5 separate regions of the Homo sapiens genome follow, and regions 2, 3, 4 and 5 are each linked to region 1. The links are contacts of gene promoters, found by promoter capture Hi-C in blood cells and fetal thymus (Javierre and others, 2016). All regions are on one chromosome and are shown on one strand. Each heading gives the region's core, a stretch centred on a gene start or on the middle of the fragment in contact. The rest is flanking DNA. Distances are from core to core; before and after follow the strand shown. Region 1 holds the start of VWA5A (von Willebrand factor A domain containing 5A). Region 2 has its middle 4.0 kb from the start of PANX3. Region 3 has its middle 20 kb from the start of OR8A1. Region 4 has its middle 12 kb from the start of OR8B2. Region 5 holds the start of OR8B3 (olfactory receptor family 8 subfamily B member 3).

Region 1 (2,742 bases), core at 153-2,652:
GATTCAGTGCCCTCTAACCACGCTGCATGCCTGGTCTGTGGCAGACTTTTAGTGCTAAGCTCTAAGCCCAGCAGGATCAGATGATGAACTCTGCCCACGTTTCCAGCTCCTCCCTTTTGTTGCTCAGATGTTTCGGCCAATGGAAAGAAGGCACAGTCACAAGGAACAATACCAGACATGATTTCTCTCCAGAGAAAAGGATAATTTCCTCTCATAATTAGTTCAGTACATGTAAAAAACATGGTTGTAGGGCCTAGTACTGATAAAATAGAATTTGTGCTTATATTATGCTTTACTATATATGCATATATTACATGCATGTAACTGTATATACATGCATGGGTGTACATATATACACATATATACATCTATGCATGCACATCCATGTATATAAATGTGTATGTGGGTGTATATATATAAAGTATATAAATGTGTGTGTGTGTGTGTGTGTGTGTGTATATATATATATATATATATATATATAAAACTTTTATAGCCACTAAGATTCATTAGATCTCACAAAAACAATCAGTGGAGGTTTGTCATTATCCCCGTTTCAGATGAGAGAACAAATAACTTGGGGAGAGTTATTTGTATATAACAAATATCTCACAAAAACAAGTATATAACCAGTATATAACAAGTATATCCACAAAAAATACATCACAGAGACCAAAATCAAGCTGTGTTTTCCATATGTATCATGTATTCTTTATCCTATAGATTCTCGACAGCAATATGACACTTTAAGTCTCAGATTTAATAGGTTGTTTTGAAATAGAGAAGCCATGGGGACCTTGATCGCTTCTAATGTCCTTTAGCCAGGTAAATGAGCATAGACATTCTCAGTTACTTACATCGTTAACCCAAACATTTGGTTTCAGGATCCCATAAGCGACCCATGACAGGAAGACTTGGGCTTCCCTGGCTAGAGCTTCTCTCATTAGAGCAGATGTGTGTGCCTTGCACTATCTCCTTATCTTTCCCCCTGCTGTAGGGGAGGGGCAACTTGGGGGAAAATGACTCACATTAGAGATAAGGTGTCAATGATATAATCTCCATAAAGCTTTGATTAACAGGGCCCAGGACACAGTAAGCCTTTGGCAATTAAGCTTTTACAAAAATATGCAGTTTTTAATGTCATTGTTGTTGTTCCTGTTGCAGCATTTTCCCTTGCCCTCTTTGCCTGTTCTCTGATTGTTCCTTAGCAAAGAGCAAAGAAAAAAACCAAACGTTCCAAAGTCGAAGACTTTTCCTTTGATACAAACAAGCGAAAGTTCGATTATTTGTTCAATAATTTTCCGTTGATCCCTTAGTCTTGTAGTCGCTACTTTATAACCGGTCCCTAGAAGGGGGCGGTTCTTTCCGGAAATTATGACTGCAGCTGTTTTCACTCCGCTGTGACTCAGAGCGCTCCGGGCTGCAGGAGAGGAAGGTAGGGGACCAAGCTACCGGTGCAGGGCCTGGATCCAACCCCTGCTCTGGAAGACTGAGAGCTCCACATTCTAGCTCCCTTTCCCCAGTCCCCAAATTTGTAGGGGCTCCTTGAATTGCACGCCCCATGGGTGGAGGATTTCATCCTGATGTATGATCCCCAGGAAGGTTCCTGCAAGTTTGGCAGTTTAGGGGAATCTTTTGGAGGTTGAAGGAGGGATTTAGCCATCTCCTAATCTCAAGGCCCTTCTTCCTACTTTCCTTCTCTTTTACTTTACTTTTTTTCCCGCTTTCTTTCTTTGATATAGACAATTGATGTTTTCTCAGTTTCAGGATAGTGTAAGCTGAGGAAATGAGGCTGTAAGCCTCATCTACTCCAATCAGTTGCAGCCCCTAAGCCCTTCTCTATAGAAATGTAAGAGACCGACGCAGTCTCTTCTGTAAATACGTGGACATTGGAAATCTAGGACTGAATGGAAAGGTTAAATCAATCTCTGATTTTATCCAAGCCCCACTTCTTACCCCAAATCTCCTCCTTGTCTGGTTCCGAGTTCTCCACTTCACCCCTGCCACAGGCCGCAGGGGTGTGTGTGGCCGGTGGTGCCACCCAGCTCCCCTCCCACCCTCCTAGCTGCTGAGCGGCTGGTGCTGGGACTCTGCATTCCTGAAGCAGCTACCTGGCTAGGCCGGAAGCCTTGTATTCTCCCAGCTGCCTCAGATTCATGGCTTTCAGCTTGGTGGCCAGTCTCTACCTAAGCCTTGCAAGTTGCCTTTCTGAAGTGCCATCCTGAGAGACAGAACTAATTCTGACCCAAACTAATTTTGTTTGTACTGGGAAGAGTGGGGGCAAGGGTGCAGAATAGCAAGTTTTCCTCAACGGAGGATTTGTTCTGAGCTTAGAATCAGGAAGCGAAGGCTATTTCCTTGTAGGGGTGCCCTTTGCGTCTCTCTCTCTTTTACTCTAGCCACCTTGGTGAGTATTGCCCAGCCTGAGAGCTTCTCTTTCAGCTGTTTTACTCCTGTGTGAGTCTCCTGCTTTAGGCTCTCTGCTTAATGTGTTATTAGAAATTCTTCCCTCCCCCAGCCCAGCCTGTTCTACCAGAGAACTTGCCCAGGTCAGAGGTCTGCGTAGAAGCCCTTTTCTGAGCATCCTCTCCTCTCCTCACACCTGCCACTGTCCTCTGCGTTGCTGTCGAATTGTGAGTCATTTTGCCACACTCAGTTTTTATCCAATTTCTCAAAATAAAAACAGATATGGAATGAAAAGCCTGATTTATTGGTGCTGTTTAGTGGGGGTGCAAATGTAGG
Region 2 (2,700 bases), core at 178-2,677, 490 kb after region 1:
CCAGTAACCGCTCAGTGAGTATAGATGTCTGCAGCCCCAATCAACACCTTCACTAGACCCTGAGCCAGAACAGCCTAGCTAAGCCCCTCCCAAATTTCTGATCTGTAGAATATTTGAGATAATAAATTTTTTTTGTTTTAAGCCCTACATTTTGGGGTAATTTTTTATGCAACAATAGAAAGCTAGTGCATTTAAGCTATGTTAAGAGAAACTAGAAAATCTGATTAGTCAGGCCAGGCGCGGTGGCTCACGCCCGTAATGTCAGCACTTTGGGAGGCTGAGGCGGGGGGATCACCTGAGGTTGGGAGTTCGAGACCAGCCTGGCCAACATGGTGAAACCCTGTCTCTACTAAAAATACAAAACTTAGCTGGGCATGGTGGCACACGCCTGTAATCCCAGCTACTCCAGAAGCTGAGGTGGGAGAATCGCTTGAACTCTGGAAGCAGAGGTTGCAGTGAGCCGAGATAGCGCCACTGTGCTCCATCCTGGGCAACAGGGTGAGACTTCATATCAAAAAAAATAAAATAAAGTAAAAGTTAAAAAAAAGAAAATCTGAATAGTCAAATATTGACTAAGGAAATTGAATCCATTACTAAAATTCCACACAAAGAAAATCCCAAGACTAGGTGGTTTCACCTGTAAATTCTGCCAAATATTTAATGAAGAAATAATACCAATACTGCACAAACTCTTACAAGAGGAGGCAGATAAAGAAGAAATACTTCCTAACTCTTTTGGCATGGCCAGCATAACCTGCCAAAGACCTGATAAAAAAGGAAAATTAAATCAAGTTCTTTCTTCTTTTTAAATAGAAATGTAAAAATCCTTAACAAAATATTAGCAAACTGAAACCAGTAAAAAATTTAAAAGGTAATATATCTGAACTAAGTGAGATTTATTTCACAGATGCAAGAGTAATTTAACATTCAAAAATTGATCAATATATCTCATCAAAATAATACACATAAAGATAAAAATCATATGAGCATCTCAAAGTATGCAGAAAAAATATTTTTAAAAATTGAATATTCATTCATATCAAACACACTTAGCAAGCTAGGAATAAAGGAGAACTTCTTTAATGTGAAAAAGAATTCCTACCAATAAAAAAAAAGGAAAAAAACCTACAATGAACATCCTGCTCAATAATAACACTGAAAACTTTCCGCCTGAGAGAAGGAACAAGACAGAGATACCCATTATCACTACTCATATTCAATATTATACTGGATGGCCTAACCAGTGTAATAAGGCAAGAAAATAAATAAAAGGCATAACGATAGAAAGAAAGAAAGAAAGAAAGAAAGAAAGAAAGAAAGAAAGAAAGCTGTGATTTTTCATAAATGATATGGTTGTATAGATTTTTAAAAATCTGAATTAATCTACAAACTATTAGAATCAATAAATGAATTCAATAAGATTGACGTATACAAGATCAGTGTACAAAAATCAGTTGTATTTTCATATGTGAGCAACAAACAATTAGAAAATCAATTTTTTAAAAAATATATGGTTAACAATAGCATCAAGAAACATCAAACACCTAGGAATAAATCCAACAATAGATGTGTAAGACATCTGCACTTAAAACCAAAAGTTGCTACGGACAGAAAGACGTCTTTTTTTTTTTTTTCTTTGAGACAGAGTTTCACTTTTGTTGCCCAGGCTGGAGTGCAGTGGCACGATCTCGGCTCATGCAACCTCCACCTCCCGGGTTCAAGTGATTCTTCTGCCTCAGCCTCCCGAGTAGCTGGGATTACAGGTACCTGTCTCCACGTCCAGCTAATTTTTCGTATTTTTACTAGAAATGGGTTGTCATCATGTTGGCCAGGCTGGTCTCGAACTCCTGACCTCAGGTGATTCACCCACCTTGGCCTCCCAAAGTGCTGGGATTACAGGTGTGAGCCACTGCACCCGGCCTCAGAAAGAAGTCTTAAGCAAATGGAGGGATATGCCATGTTCATAGATTTGAAGACTAAATGCTGTAAAGAAGGCAATTTTTCCCAAATTAAGCTGTAAATTAAAGTCACAATCAAAAATTCCAGCAGGTTTCTTTCCTGCTGAAATTCAAAAACTGATGGTAAAATTCATGTAGAAATGCAAAAGATCCAAAATAGCCAGAGCAATCCTGAAGAACAATAAAACTGGAAGATCTACACTACAGGTGCCAAGACCTACTATAAAGCTATACTAGCTAAGATATTGTAGTGTTGGCAAAAAAAAAAAAAAAAAAAAAAAGACATTGTCAGCTGGAACACAGTCACCTGATTTATGACCATGACAACACTGCACTGCAATGAGAAAGGAAAGGTCTTACAATAAATTGTGCTGAGTCAGCTGGATAGCCATATGGAAAATAATATTTCTTGACTCATATCTCATACCATATGTTAAAAAAAATTATAGATGAACTGCAGACCCAAATGAGAAAGATAAAACAAAAATATTTTGGAGAACACCTAGGAAACATTTTTCATGGTATTGTAATTAATAACCAATTGCTTCTTAAACAGAATACATATAGCACTATCCATAGAAAAAAATGATACATTGACTGTATTAAAATTAGAAATTCTGGTCATCAAAAGACACCATTAAGAGAATGAAAAGGCAACAAGTGGAGTGGAAGAAGATATAAATAAAACATATTGCTAGCAATGGTCTCACATCCAGAATATTTGAAAGAGTACTACAAATCA
Region 3 (2,700 bases), core at 69-2,568, 470 kb after region 1:
CTTCAATAGTTCAATCATTATTTTTAAATATTCAGTGAAATAGGAATCAATGACATATTCTAAAGGTAAATGTGAAAACATCCTTATAGTAAAAATATTAGATACATTCCCATTAAAGCCTGAACTAGACCAATATGTCTACTATCTCTTCTATTAATTAATATTGTAAAGTAGGGAACCAATGCAATTAGACAAGAGAAAGAAATTAAAGGCAAAAGAATCATAAAGGAAGAGGTACAACTATCTGTATAGGCAGATACTATTATTAATTTTTTGGAAATTCCAAAATAATCCATGAAACATACTAAAAACAATACCAGTTACGTTGCAGGAGTAAAATTAGAAATCAATATACTTCGTATACAAACAATAACCTGGTAGAACATGTCACAATAGATCTCATTACAATAGAAAATAAAATTTCTAATCAAAAATCTAGTTTAAAAATGTACAAAACCTACATGACTAAAAGTACGCACATACCTAAAGGACACAAAAGCATATCTAACAAACAGAAAGGCATACGGTGGTCTCCCATTGTCAGACTCAACACCAGAATGTATCAGTTAGTTCTAAGATTGTAAATGTAACATGATCTTGATAAATATAGTAGGAGGGTTTTTTTTGTTTTTTTTTTTTTTTTTTTTTTGTCTGGAGGAAGACAAACTGATAATGAAGTTCGTCTGAAAGAATAAATAGGCAAGAATACCATGGAAAATCCTGGGGGCATGAGGGATCACAACTTGTAGAAGCTAACCCTAACATACGTGAAAACAACATAATTAAAGCTTCTGTAATTAAAGCAAAATATTAGCACGTGAATGGGGTGGTAGTCCACTGGAACAGAATATAAAACAAATCAAAATGTAGTTTAATATTTGATGAAGGTAGCAACTAGAATCAACAGGGGAAAGGATAGGTTATCGTTTTTTAACGGTGAGGGTATAACTGGATAGCCTTATGAAAAATAATAAAATTAGATCTATTTCTCACACCACAAACAGTATAAATTTCAAATACATCCAAATGTAAAAATTAAATTCATACAAGTTCTGGAAAGGAAAATGAAACATAGACGAAGTTATTTATAACCTGAAAGTAGATTATACTTGGCAGACAATTATTCAAAACCCAGAGCCTATAAATAAAATTTTAATAAATGTGACTATATTCTAGAAAGCGCTTTTTGCCTGGAAAAAAATTGTAAGAAAAGTCAGAAGATAAAAAATGAGAAAAATCTATATGGAATTTATATCTCAGACAAAAAGCTAATATATTTAATAATGACCTTCTAGTATTTGAAAATAAAAAGACCTACAACCCAAGACAAAAATGAGCAAAAGACATAAATAGAGACTTCAGAGAAAATAGATATATTAATGGCTCTTGAACATATAAAAAGATATTCAACTTTTCTCATACAAGAAATGCACATTAAAACTATAGGAAAGATGCTTCAAGAAAAAGGAGGGTTGAGACTTTCTCTTCTAATCATGATGGAGTAACAGGGTCCTGACTTGCCCCCTACCCTAAATCATTAGAAAACCAGAAAAAAATGTGCAAAACAACTGTCTTCAGACATTGACAAAAGGTAGCAGAAGATTGTTATTCCAGAGGGAGAAAAGGGAAAACGAATGAGAATTTCCTGCTTAGAGGCAATTTCAGGAAGGCAGGGATCAGGAAGAAAAAGGGCTTGGTAGTCTCACTGAAGTGAAGAGACAGACGTGTTCAGGAAGGTCAGAGCAGCAGGAAGCTGTGGAGCAGAAAGTGAGAAGAGGGAGCTCTGCAAAAAAGAACCCCACAAATCTGCACAGAGGTCTACCGGAGACTTTGGCTTGATACCTAAGTTAAGCTTAAAAATGAACTTCAAAAAGATCAAATTGACCCTCAAGATGCTTAAAAGCCTTCCAAAAGAATTCCCAACACACCTTAAAGGAATATAACAAAATTTAGCACTCAACAACATAAAATCTATTATGTCCGTGCCTGATTGAAAATTACTAGATGTGGAAGAAACATAAAAATGTGACCTGTAGCCAGAAGAAATTTCTTAGCAGAAACATCCCAGAAATGACAGAGATGATGGAACTGGCAAATTGAGCTTTAAAATTAGCTATTATACGTTCAATATAGTCAATATTTTTTTTAAAGTAAACATGATGCTGAGAGAAATGGAAGATACCAAAAATAACCAAATGGAACATCTAGAGATTAAAACATATATAATATCTGTAAAGAAAAATAATGACTTGATTGTATTAACATCAGATGCTGCAGAAGAAAATATCAATGCACTTGAATACACAGTGATAGAAATTATCCAAATTGAAACGCAGAGAGAAAAAAGACTGACATAAAAATTGAATAGAGGCTGGGCGCGGTGGTTCAACCCTGTAATCCCAGCACTTTTGAAAGCCGAGGTGGGAGGATCACGAGGTCGAGAGACCGAGACCATCCTGGCTAACACGGTGAAACCCCGTCTCTACTAAAAATACAAAAAATTAGCCGGACGTGGTGACAGGCGCCTGTAGTCCCAGCTACTCGGGAGGCTGAGACAGGAGAATGGCGTGAACCTGGGAGGCGGAGCTTGCAGTGAGCCGAGATGGCACCGCTGCACTCCAGCCTGGGCGACAAAGCGAGACTCCGTCTCAAAAAAAAAAAAAAAATCCTAACACAAAGGCCAAAGCCCATGTTCTTCCT
Region 4 (2,700 bases), core at 173-2,672, 260 kb after region 1:
TGAACTTGGTAGTGATTACATTGACTGCTTTCATTATTCATTTAATTATAAATGAATATTTTGTGAACTTTTCAATGCATATGATAAATTTGTTGATAAAATAAGGAAACAGAGTCTTTTCAATATGTACCACATTAATGTAAATTATTTAAAACCCAAAATACACTTAAAATCAGAATTGTGATGTTTTATTTTTATTAGATAACATTTTCAAATAAAATATCTTCATAATAATCAACAAAAATTGGTGCTTGCTCCTGGAAAGTAATTTTTTCTATCAGGTTTTGTGAATAAAACAACTACTTGTAATTACTGCATGAGAATTCTTAGTAATTATAACTAACAAATATTTACAATCACCACCAACAACAAATTTGAATGTAAAAGTAACAGAATTTAAAATTGTTTTGAAAAAATCAGCCAAATATTTAAAATTGAAATCCCATTCAAATAATGCAAATGGTCTTTTCTTTCATTGACAAATTTTATTTTAAAGCAGTTTGGAACCAAGTTCACTTTTTTACTTAATATTTCCAAATAACAAAGATACCCTAATTTGCAGTAAACTTGTGCATTTTTAGACCAGTCATGCTAACAGATGATACTAACAGAATATATCAGCTGGAAATGGGCAGAAGTATCTGATCTGGGAACAGAGAGTCCAGACCACAGAGAGCAGCACTTAAAGCTGGGCACTGTACTTCTTGGGCACCTGAAAACCCCGTCAGCAAACCCATGGGCCTCTTGTTCACAATAAGCTGTGTCCCCCTCTGCATGTGACAGCTGTAGCTGGTATCCAGGGGTGAAGCATCTCTTTGGTTGGAATTTTAAAGTGGAGCAATGAGTGCTATCTTGTCTCACTGCTCTTGCTCCTGCCAAAGACATGCTGTGCTGTCACATCATACTTCTTTACTCTTGACCACCCAGGAGCCCTTCCCAAGCTAAATCTGCCAAAGCAACCAAACTGAAATTCCCAACCTGGCTATCCTAGGCTCAGTACCTTAACCTCAAACCCCTTTTGCCATTCTATCTGCTGTGCAGTAGTTAGAAAGCTCTGTCCCAATCTATTTTCATAAAGGAGAAAGAATGAGACGTTTGGAAAGAAGTACCTCAAAACCTTTTCATTAATAAGTCAGCCTTGCTGCTATGTCAAATCCAGGACCTGGTAACATTTCAATTCCTTCGGGTGATGAAGTGAACTTGGTTGGTCAATAGGCACCATTTCATGAACCTCAAAATATAATTTCTAACTTAACGTTTTTCCTGAAAGTTAAACCTTGGGATATTGCCATTTTAAGTTAATGCAATATAATCTGTGTTTAAAATATATGTAATTAATATAATTAAGCTTTTATGTAAAAAAGAAAGATTTTATGTGTCTTTAACATATGTTAGTATGTTTTTCCAGTTTGAATTGTGTGCATGGAGAAACTGTGATACAACAAATAAGAAACAAGTATTTGACAATAGCTATATCTTTACCAAATTACACATACAAAGCTTGTAAACATTCAGTAATTGTAAAATAAGCTTATACATTCGAAAGTTATTTTATGTCTAATTTTCTCATTACATTAATTTTTTTTTTTGAGATGGAGTTTCGCTCTTGTTGCCCAGGCTGGAGTGCAACAGAGCCGTCTCGACTCACCACAACCGCTGCCTCCCAGGTTCAAGTGATTCTCCTGCCTCAGCCTCCTGAGTAGCTGGGATTACAGGCATGCACCACCACCCTCGGCTAATTTTGTATTTTTAGTAGAGATGGGGTTTCTCCATGTCAGTCAGGCTGGTCTTGAACGCCTGACCTCAGGTGATCCTCCCACTTCGGCCTCCCAAAGTGCTGGGATTACAGGCATGAGCCACCGCGCCTGGCCTCATTACATTAATTTTAAAAGATAATAGGCTTTAATTTAAACATTAGTTATAAATATTATTAGAAATGGTTTTAATTAAAAAAATCAGTTACACTTGCCAGGTCAACACAAGAAATTCAACCTGTAAAATAAGCCTGTTGACTTCACAGAACTAAGTCAAGCTAGTTGCTGATTCATTTTCCATGAAGGAGTGCTGGTGACTACAATACAGTACTCAGATCACAATGTATATTCTATGCCTGCAATTCACATTTTACTTTTTTGTTAAGTACTGGGTGGTTATAGACATGAATTTTATACACCTTTTTCTATGTCATTAAAACGTGAACTTCTAAAATATGTGCTTTAGAGCAAAATCCAAACCAAACAGTTTTAAGGTTTCTCTTTAACCAGGCACTATAATGAATGTAGGCACAAGAAAGGTAGAAGCAAATACAGACATTCAGACTCTGCTTCAGGAATAAAAGTTTTAAACAAAATTAAGTAAGATAAATATCATAATGAATATAAAAACTTGACTCTTCACTCTAACACCAATAATTTTAATCACATAGAAGTAAAGTACTTAGCCAGAAATATCATCTTCTAAGGCTATTCTCACAAAATGTTTTAGAACTTTTCAAAAATTATGGTATCTGCATAAACATAAAAATTACAATGATAATTAATCATGTCCCCTACCTATGATATATCCTTTGAGGGGCATCTTGCCCTAAGTTCATTCACAGTAGTAATGATGCAGGATTTTTCTCAGCCACTTTGCCAACTGGGGACTTCCATGGCCTGTGACACCCCCTACCCCCTGCCAGGGCCTTGCTCAGCCCGTGTC
Region 5 (2,701 bases), core at 33-2,532, 280 kb after region 1:
GCTGGAGTGCAATGGTGGGATCTCGGCTCACTGCAACCTCTGCCTCCCGGGTTCAAGAGATTCTCCTGTCCAGCCTCCCAGGTAGCTAGGATTACAGGCACATGCCACGATCCCAGCTAATTTTTGTATTTTTAGTAGAGACAGTGTTTCATGATATTGGTCTGGCTGGTCTCAAACTCCTGACCTCAGATGATCCACCTGCCTCAGCCTCCCAAAGTGCTGGAATTACAGGTGTGAACCACCGAGCCTGGCCACTTCCTAGTTTCTACTTATGTTTCCATTATTCTACTAGACACTTCAGTTTCCTTGTGATGACCACCAGGTAAGGGAGGATTCCTTTAGGGCAGAGACCATACCGATATTCTGTTTCCTAGACAGGGGTCTCCTATAGGGTTTCTAGATACCTTACTATAAGAATCCATGAAGTCACCAGGTGATAACAGAAGACCCTTAGTAGTCAAAGCCTTATGATTCACCACATACAAATCACATAAGTGTTTCTACACATTCTCCTCTATTCCATCCTAGCTAGACAGGATGAAGAAAGGAAGCTGAATGTGCTTTCACAGGTCTTTGTAGGAAGGCATAAGAGAAACATAATTAATTTGGGTACAGTTATATTAGTTGTTAAGTTTGTAAAATTTTACCAAACTGGTATTTTTATGACCCTTAAACTCTTCTATATGTATAGCACATGTCAATATATTTTTTAATAAAGAGACAAATATCCTTTCCTGGCATTCCTCTGTTCTGGATGTGTCACTTGGAACTGCTATTGCTATCTTGATACCAGGCTAAGAATGAAGCCAACAGAGAGAACAGTGTGAGAAAAATGCAAGCCCAAGAGTCAGAGCTCCATACCACTAAGTTTCTTGCTATTGAATAGAATACTTTTCCCCATTTTTCAGCAACATCCAGGAGAGAGAAATAGAAACTTGATTAACTCACCTTCCTTCCACTCAGAGAACTCAGTGCTGACCATTGATATGTGTTTCACCTCCACTGCCCTGGAGGAAGAAATGGCTGTGAAGGTATCTATGTTGATCAGATGTAGTCACAGAATCTTCTTCTCCCTTGACTGGCAAAAGCATTGAGCAGAGATCTCAGAATCTGAATGTTCTGGGAATCATTTTGTGGTGTAGATCAAACTATTATTTATAAATTTGCCAAGAGGGTTTGTTGGAAAACTGCACTTCAAACCAGAGCTACCATGTCATAGAGCACATGGCATTTGCTCAAGGCTTACAATTCTTTTGGACCTGATTACATATCCCCCAGTAAGTCTCTCTCAGGACCTCCCCTACCATGACAAACTCTGCAGGGAAGAAATTGTATGCCCTTGTTTACAGCCTAATTTGTTGTAGTAGAGGTAAATTTCTCATCAGGGATTATACAATCCACAGGGCATAGGAGAAAGAGCATCTGCTCTCATGTATAAAGATGTAAATGTAATGATTGTCAGAATTTTTGCTAATTATAATCCTAGGTAGTATATTAGCTTTAACAGGAATGTAAGTATAATTTAGTGAAGTTTATATGCTCATTTTTAATATTGTGAGTCCTTTTAAATAATCTTTCAAATAATCCATTTTTACTTTTGCATACTTCATAGGCATAAAGAAAAGGGATACTTTTAATTGATTTCAGATTTTTTAATAAAAATTTTGTGTAACATAGAATTATCCTTTATTTCATAAAAATGTATTTACCTTGGGTTGCTCTAACTCAACATGTCTTTGTCTTTCATGTTAAAATCAAATCCGTAAGAAAAATCACTATTCATGGGCCGTTATTTCAAGACAGTGTGACTTTAGAATTTCTCTGTAGGTAGGAATTTGTGCTTGTGAGAAGGCATCTATTTTTTTACCTTTTTATTTTAAAATTACTAGAATCACAAGAAGTGGCAAAAGTCATACGTAGATTCCCTTGAACTCTTCACCCAGTTTCCTCACATGGCGATGTCTTCCACGACTATAGGACAATAGCAAAACCAGGAAATTGACATAGGTTCAATAATGTTAACGAAACTACAGACCTTATTCACTAGTTTAACATGCTCGTATGTATGTGTGTGCAAATCTATGCAATTCTATCCCATGTACATATTTATGTAACCACCACCTAAGTCAGGATACAGAATTCTCTTTTTTTTTTTTTTTGAGACTGTGTCCTGCTTTGCTGCAATCACAGCTTACTGCAGCCTCAACCTCCCAGGTTCAATAGATCTTCCCACCTCAGCCTCCCAAGTAGCTGGGACTACAGGCACATGCCACCACCATTGGATAATTTTTGTATTTTTTATAGAGACAGGATTTCATCATATTGCCCAGGCTGGTCTTGAACTCCTGGGATCAAGTAATCCACCTGCCTTGGCCTCCCAAAGTGGTGGGACTACAGGAGTGAGTCACCATACCCAGCCAAAAATATCCATCTTAAAAGAGATGTATAAACTTTTGTTTTCTTATTTTTTATTAGTAATTATTATATGTATTTATGGGATACAATGTGGTGTTTTGATAAATGTATACATCATGAAATTATTAAATTAAGATCATTAACACACCTATCAACTCACATACTGATTTTCTGTAGTGTAAACACTTAAAATCTACTCTCTTAGCAATTTTGAAATATATATTGCATTATTATTAACTATACTCTCCAGTCAGTGCAATAGATTCCAAAAACATATACCTCCTTT

Evidence for each region. The method cuts DNA at HindIII sites, captures the fragments that hold promoters and counts their contacts. A CHiCAGO score of 5 or more calls a contact.
Region 2: a fragment that was not itself captured here is called in contact with the fragment with the promoter of VWA5A in region 1 in 1 of 17 cell types (total B cells); the score reaches 5.9 in total B cells.
Region 3: a fragment that was not itself captured here is called in contact with the fragment with the promoter of VWA5A in region 1 in 3 of 17 cell types (naive B cells, total B cells and M2 macrophages); the score reaches 10.9 in naive B cells.
Region 4: a contact is called between a fragment that was not itself captured here and the fragment with the promoter of VWA5A in region 1, in 1 of 17 cell types (total B cells). The highest score is 5.6, in total B cells.
Region 5: a contact is called between the fragment with the promoter of OR8B3 here and the fragment with the promoter of VWA5A in region 1, in 2 of 17 cell types (total B cells and naive B cells). The highest score is 5.5, in total B cells.

The regions. Positions count from the first base shown.
Region 1 is chr11:124,114,048-124,116,789 of GRCh38, forward strand. VWA5A (von Willebrand factor A domain containing 5A) reads left to right here and starts at 1,403. Exons shown (of 19, transcript NM_001130142.2): 1 at 1,403-1,435; 2 at 2,519-2,633. The HindIII fragment of the contact is 2,481 bases long and covers 1,111-2,742 here.
Region 2 is chr11:124,606,055-124,608,754 of GRCh38, forward strand. No RefSeq gene overlaps it. Among named protein-coding and RNA genes, the nearest start is that of PANX3, 4.0 kb to the right of the region's middle. The HindIII fragment of the contact is 6,490 bases long and covers 1-2,700 here.
Region 3 is chr11:124,588,607-124,591,306 of GRCh38, forward strand. No RefSeq gene overlaps it. Among named protein-coding and RNA genes, the nearest start is that of OR8A1, 20 kb to the left of the region's middle. The HindIII fragment of the contact is 1,064 bases long and covers 787-1,850 here.
Region 4 is chr11:124,371,431-124,374,130 of GRCh38, forward strand. No RefSeq gene overlaps it. Among named protein-coding and RNA genes, the nearest start is that of OR8B2, 12 kb to the right of the region's middle. The HindIII fragment of the contact is 152 bases long and covers 1,347-1,498 here.
Region 5 is chr11:124,397,742-124,400,442 of GRCh38, forward strand. OR8B3 (olfactory receptor family 8 subfamily B member 3) reads right to left here and starts at 1,283. Exons shown (of 2, transcript NM_001005467.2): 1 at 949-1,283. The HindIII fragment of the contact is 12,656 bases long and covers 1-2,701 here.